Regions from separate parts of the Homo sapiens genome. Here region 1 is linked to region 2. The links are contacts of gene promoters, found by promoter capture Hi-C in human tissues and cell types (Jung and others, 2019). All regions are on one chromosome and are shown on one strand. The core of a region is centred on a gene start or on the middle of the fragment in contact, and the rest is flanking DNA. Distances in the headings are between cores, read along the strand shown. Region 1 overlaps MAPK10 (mitogen-activated protein kinase 10). Region 2 holds the start of ARHGAP24 (Rho GTPase activating protein 24).

Region 1 (2,700 bases), core at 22-2,521, 550 kb after region 2:
TGGTGGGTTCTTGGTCTCACTGACTTCAAGATTGAAGCCGCGGACCCTCGCGGTGAGTGTTACAGCTCTTAAGGTGGCGCGTCTGGAGTCTGTCCCTTCTGATGTTCAGATGTGTTCGGAGTTTCTTCCTTCTGGTGGGTTCGTGGTCTCGCTGGCTCAGGAGTGAAGCTGCAGACCTTCACGGTGAGTGTTACAGCTCTTAAGGCAGCGAGTCTGGAGCTTTTCGTTCCTCCCAGTGGGCTCGTGGTCTCACTGGGGTCAGGAGTGAAGCTGCAGACCTTCGTGGTGAGTGTTACAGCTCATAAAAGCAGCATGGACCCAGAGTGAGCAGTAGCAACATCTACTGCAAAGAGCAAAGAACAAAGCTTCCACACTGTGGAAGGGGACCCAAGTGGGTTGCCAATGCTGGCTCGGGCAGCCTGCTTTTATTCTCTTATCTGGCCCCACCCACATCCTGCTGATTGGTAGAGCCGAGTGGCCTGTTTTGACAGGGTGCTGACTGGTGCATTTACAATCCCTGAGCTAGATACAAAGGTTCTCCACGTCCCCATCAGATTAGATACAGAGTATCAACACAAAGGTTCTCCAAGGCCCCACCAGAGCAGCTAGATACAGAGTGTGGATTGGTGCACTCACAAACCTTGAGCTAAACACAGGGTGCTGATTGGTGTGTTTACAAACCTTGAGCTAGATACACAGTGCCGATTGGTATATTTACAATCCCTGAGCTAGACATAAAGGTTTTCCAAGGCCCCACCAGAGCAGCTAGATACAGAGTGTCGATTGGTGCACTCACAAACCCTGAGCTAGACACAGAGTGCTGATTGGTATGTTTACAATCCCTGAGCTAGACATAAAGGTTCTCCAAGGCCCCACCAGAGCAGCTAAATACAGAGTGTCGATTGGTGCACTCACAAACCTTGAGCTAAACACAGGGTGCTGACTGGTGTATTTACAATCCCTGAGCTAGACATAAAGACTCTCCACGTCCTCACCAGACTCAGGAGCCCAGCTGGCTTCACCTAGTGGATCCCGTACCAGGGCTGCAGGTGGAGCTGCCTGCCAGTCCTGCGCTGTGCGCTCGCATTCCTCAGCCCTTGGGTGGTCGCTGGGACTGGGCGCCATGGAGCAGGGGGTGGTGCTCGTCGGGGAGGCTCGGGCTGCACAGGAGCCCATGGAGTGGGTGGGAGGCTCAGGCATGGCGGGCTGCAGGTCCTGAGCCTTGCCCCGCAGGAAGGCAGCTAAGGCCCGGCGAGAAATCGAGCACAGCGCCGGTGGGCCGGCACTGCTGGGGGACCCAGTACACCTTCCGCAGCCACTGGCCCGGGTGCTAAGTCCCTCACTGCCCGGGGCCAGCAGGGCTGGCTGGCTGTCCCGAGTGCGGGGGCCCGCCAAGCCCACGCCTACCTGCAACTCCAGCTGGCCCGCAAGCGCCGCACGCGGCCCGGGTTCCCGCTCGTGCCTCTCCCTCCACACCTCCCTGCAAGCTGAGGGAGTGGGCTCCAGCCTTGGCCAGCCCAGAAAGGGGCTCCCACAGTGCAGTGGGGGGCTGAAAGGCTCCTCAAATGCCGCCAAAGTAGGAGCCCAGGCAGGGGAGGTGCCGAGAGCAAGCGAGGGCTCTGAGGACTGCCAGCACGCTCTCACCTCTCAAAACTGTTTTCTAAAGTGGGTGCACCATTTTACATTACTACCAGCAGTATATGAGGATTCCAATTTCTCTACATCCTCACCAACACTTATTATCTGTCTTTTTATCTAGCCATCCTAGTGTGCATGAAATGGTATCTCATTGTGGTTTGATTTGCATTTGCCTGATAGCTAATAATGTTGAGTATATTTTTTCATGTGCTTGTCAGCCATTAGTATATCTTCTTTGGAGAAAGTTTACTCAGCTCCTTTGGCCATTTTTTAATTGCTTTATTTTCTTTTTATTATTGAGTTGTAAGCTCTTTAGCTCTTTCTTCCTTTCTTTCTTGCTTTCTTTCTTCTTTATTTCTTTTTTTAAGGACAGGGTCTCAGTCGCCCAGCCTGTAGCACAGTGGCATAGTCATGTTTCACTGTATCCTCTAACTCCAGGGCTCAGGCAATTCTCCTGCCCCAGCCTCCCAAGTAGCTAGGACTACAGGCACATACCACCACACCTGGCTAATTAAAAAAAAGATTTTTTGTAGAGACAGGAGCTTGCCATGTTGCCCAAGCTGGTCTCAAACTCCTGGCCTCAAGTGATCTTCCGATTTCTGCCTCCCAAAATGCTGGGTCTACAGGCATGAGCCACTGTGACAGGCCTGTAAGAGCTCTTTATATAATCTGGGTACAAGTTACTTAATGAGATATGTATTTTCAAATGTTTTTCCTCTATGCTATGGTTTATCTTTTCATTTTCTTGAAGGTGTCTTTTGAAGCACACATATTTTTAATTTTTATGAAATAGCATTTATCTGTTGTTTCTTTTATCACTTGTGTTTTAGTGTCATATCTAATAAACCATTTTCTAATCCAAGATTATAAAAACTTACTCCTATGTTTTTGCCTAAGAGTTTTATAATGTTAGACCTTATACTTAAGTCTATGATTCATTTTTAGTTCATTTTTGTATATGATATGAGGCAGGGGCCCACCTTCATTCTTTTGCATGTATATATCCAATCATCCCAGCACCATATATTGAAAAGGCTATTCTTTGTCCATGTCTTACATCCT
Region 2 (2,726 bases), core at 42-2,541:
TTTATAGTAGGACCTCAGCATGGGATGGGGTAGATTCGTTTCTCCAAGAACTTGGAGAAAGAGGACAAAAAGGAAAAACATATCAGTGTCCACTCAGCCTTTTATTTTTGGTGTTTCTAAAACTAAACATTTGCTCTTCTTCCATATCCCTCTCTCACTGGAGATCCCTAGTGAGGACACCCCCATTCTGTGTCTTAAGGATATCTGGTGATGATTTCTAAAAGAGAGTTTCTTTTATTAGTAGTAGCAGTAGTAATTGTTCGAGACGGGGGTGTCACTCCGTCACCTAGGCTGGAGTGCGCTGGCACAATTATAGCTCACTGCAGCCTTGACCTCCTGGGCTCAAGGGATTTTCCCGCTTCAGCCTCCTGAGTAGCTGGGACTACAGACATACGCCGCCACGCCCAACTTTTTTTTTATTTTTTTAATTTTTTTTTTATAGAGACAGGAGTCTCATTATGTTGCCAATTTTGGTCTGAAACCCCTGGGCTCAAGCGATCCTCCTGCCTCAGCCTTCCAAAGTGCTAGGATTGCATGACTGATCCACTGTAAGTGGGTTTCTAAAACAGAGATCTTTACAAAGCTTTTTGAAATAATTTGACTCAGCATGCCAGGTAACCAGAACTGTAAGATCACAATTTGAAACAGACATTGTGGTGATGGTGGGAAGAGACGGCCTGCATCAAAACAATGTTTACTAGTTTGTCCTTTTGTCCCATATTGTGTAACTCCGAGAGTTCTTACACCACCGTAAGAAAGTAATTATACTTTGAATTTCTCTAAGGCTCTAGTTAGAGAGCATCCATCTAAATGTGCATTTCCAGGAATATTGCTTTAATGGCCCAGGTAATTCTAATTGGAGAAATAAAATGTTAGCGAGACAGAGTTGGTAGAAGCAAGTAAAACCGGTGTATGGGGTTTGGCCAATGAAATGCAGAGCTCCTTGAGGGCAGGAGACATGTATTCACCAACCTTCTCGCGCCCACAGCCCCAGATCTGTGGCCAACAAGTATCTATGATGCACTTGAAAGGAACGAGCGATGCCAGATGCGGAGGAACCAGGCAGGGCGCATTCTGTCAGTGGCGCCAGGCGGTGTAGCTCCAGCTCTCAGATAACCCAGGCTTTGGGAGGGCGGGGCTCCTGCCGGCCTCCCCTGTAGTGCGGCTCGAGTCCTGTGAAGCTACCAGTTGCCAAATGAAATCTGAAACCTCGAGCTGTGTCTGAGGGTTGGCCCCACTCAGTTGTTCCAGCCTCTTGTACTGTATATTTACACATTCACACACAATCACCCTTTCTAACTTCTGGGACTCTTTGCGCAACTGCTAGGATTTCTCAAGTGCATGTGGCAACACAGCCCAGCTCCGGGTGGAAACCAGCAGGGCTCTGGAGGGGCTCGGAGACCAGGGGAGCTGTCAAGGCTGCGGCGGGGACCAGAGAGGAGCCTGGCGGGGGTGGCTGGGTGGCTGGGGGAATCCCCCCAACTTCCCATCGCAGGCGCAGCTCTCTCGGCCGCCTATTTCCTCCGAAACCCGCGCTGCGGAGCAGCCCAGTGCATAGAGTTCAACACTTCCCCTTGTTGTGGAAAGTAAAGGAGCCTCACTACCACCTTTTTTTCTTTGCGTTTTCTTACTGCTGGTCCTGGGAGCCTTTTCCTTCGGAGCAGCAGCCCTGTCCGGCATCTGTCTTGAGCTCCCAGCAAGGTAGGTGATGCGGTCGCGAGGAAGTGCGCGGAGCTACCGCGGGAAGGACGGACGCGGCTGCCTGCGCCAGGGGAGGGGGCTGCGGGGGGCGGGGAGGGGGCTGCGGGGGGCGGGGAGGGGGCTGCGGGGGGCGGGGAGGGGGCTGCGGGGGGCGGGGAGGGGGCTGCGGGGGGCGGGGAGGGATCGCAGGAATCCCGTGCTGATGTAGCCTGTCTGTGTTTGTGTGTGTGTGTGCGCGCGCGCGCATGTTTGTGCCGGGAGACAGCAAGCTGGTAGTATGTCTTTCTGGCTTTAAAAATAGATGGAATTAATAAAAACCCTTTGTACAATTCAATTTCCTCTCTTGGTATCCATCCTCCCCTTCCCCTTGTTTGTTTCCTCTAGTATCTTATAGGAGTTCCCTATGTAACAGGCGCACAAAGATAGGTTTTAATAATAAGCATATATATTTGCAAAAATATATATTTTATATGTATAAAATATGTTTTAAAATATTTATAAATATATTACATATTAGAAATATATATTATAAAATATATACATATATTTGTAAACACAAAACGTTAGGGAATCTTTGGTGAATTTGAAGCCACTCAAAAGATTTTGTCCAAATGTTTTTAAAAATAACATTTAATGATAAACATGTAATATGGTCTCGTTTTTAGAAAATACTTAAGACTACATTTATTTTATACGTACCCAAATAGAAGGGAGACAATGTTACTCTGAATTCCTTAGATAGATTTTCAGCATCAACCAGTAATAGGGAGCCCAGACTTCTTTGTAGACTATATCTCGTTTAATTCATTTGAATTAAACAAGTAATTTCTCCAAGTAATTTCTGTTTCCAGCACATTTTATGTTACTCTTTTTTTAACCTTCCACGGCATCATTGTTTCATCTCTTTCTAAAAAGGAAATAAATAAATCGTGCTGAGTATTTGGAATATAAAAGTTGTTAAGGCTTTGCTTATACATAAATACATAAATAAAACAATATGTGTTGCTATGTCTACTAAGTAAGAC

The links. The method cuts DNA at HindIII sites, captures the fragments that hold promoters and counts their contacts. A contact is called where the count stands out against the background at its distance.
Region 1: a fragment that was not itself captured here is called in contact with the fragment with the promoter of ARHGAP24 in region 2 in 1 of the 25 tissues and cell types used here (dorsolateral prefrontal cortex).

Annotation. Positions count from the first base shown.
Region 1 is chr4:86,020,523-86,023,222 of GRCh38, forward strand. All of the region lies in intron 13 of MAPK10 (mitogen-activated protein kinase 10), which reads right to left. Among named protein-coding and RNA genes, the nearest start is that of MAPK10-AS1, 98 kb to the right of the region's middle. The HindIII fragment of the contact is 3,411 bases long and covers 1-2,700 here.
Region 2 is chr4:85,473,859-85,476,584 of GRCh38, forward strand. It overlaps ARHGAP24 (Rho GTPase activating protein 24), which reads left to right and starts at 1,292. Exons shown (of 10, transcript NM_001025616.3): 1 at 1,292-1,701. The HindIII fragment of the contact is 7,943 bases long and covers 1-2,726 here.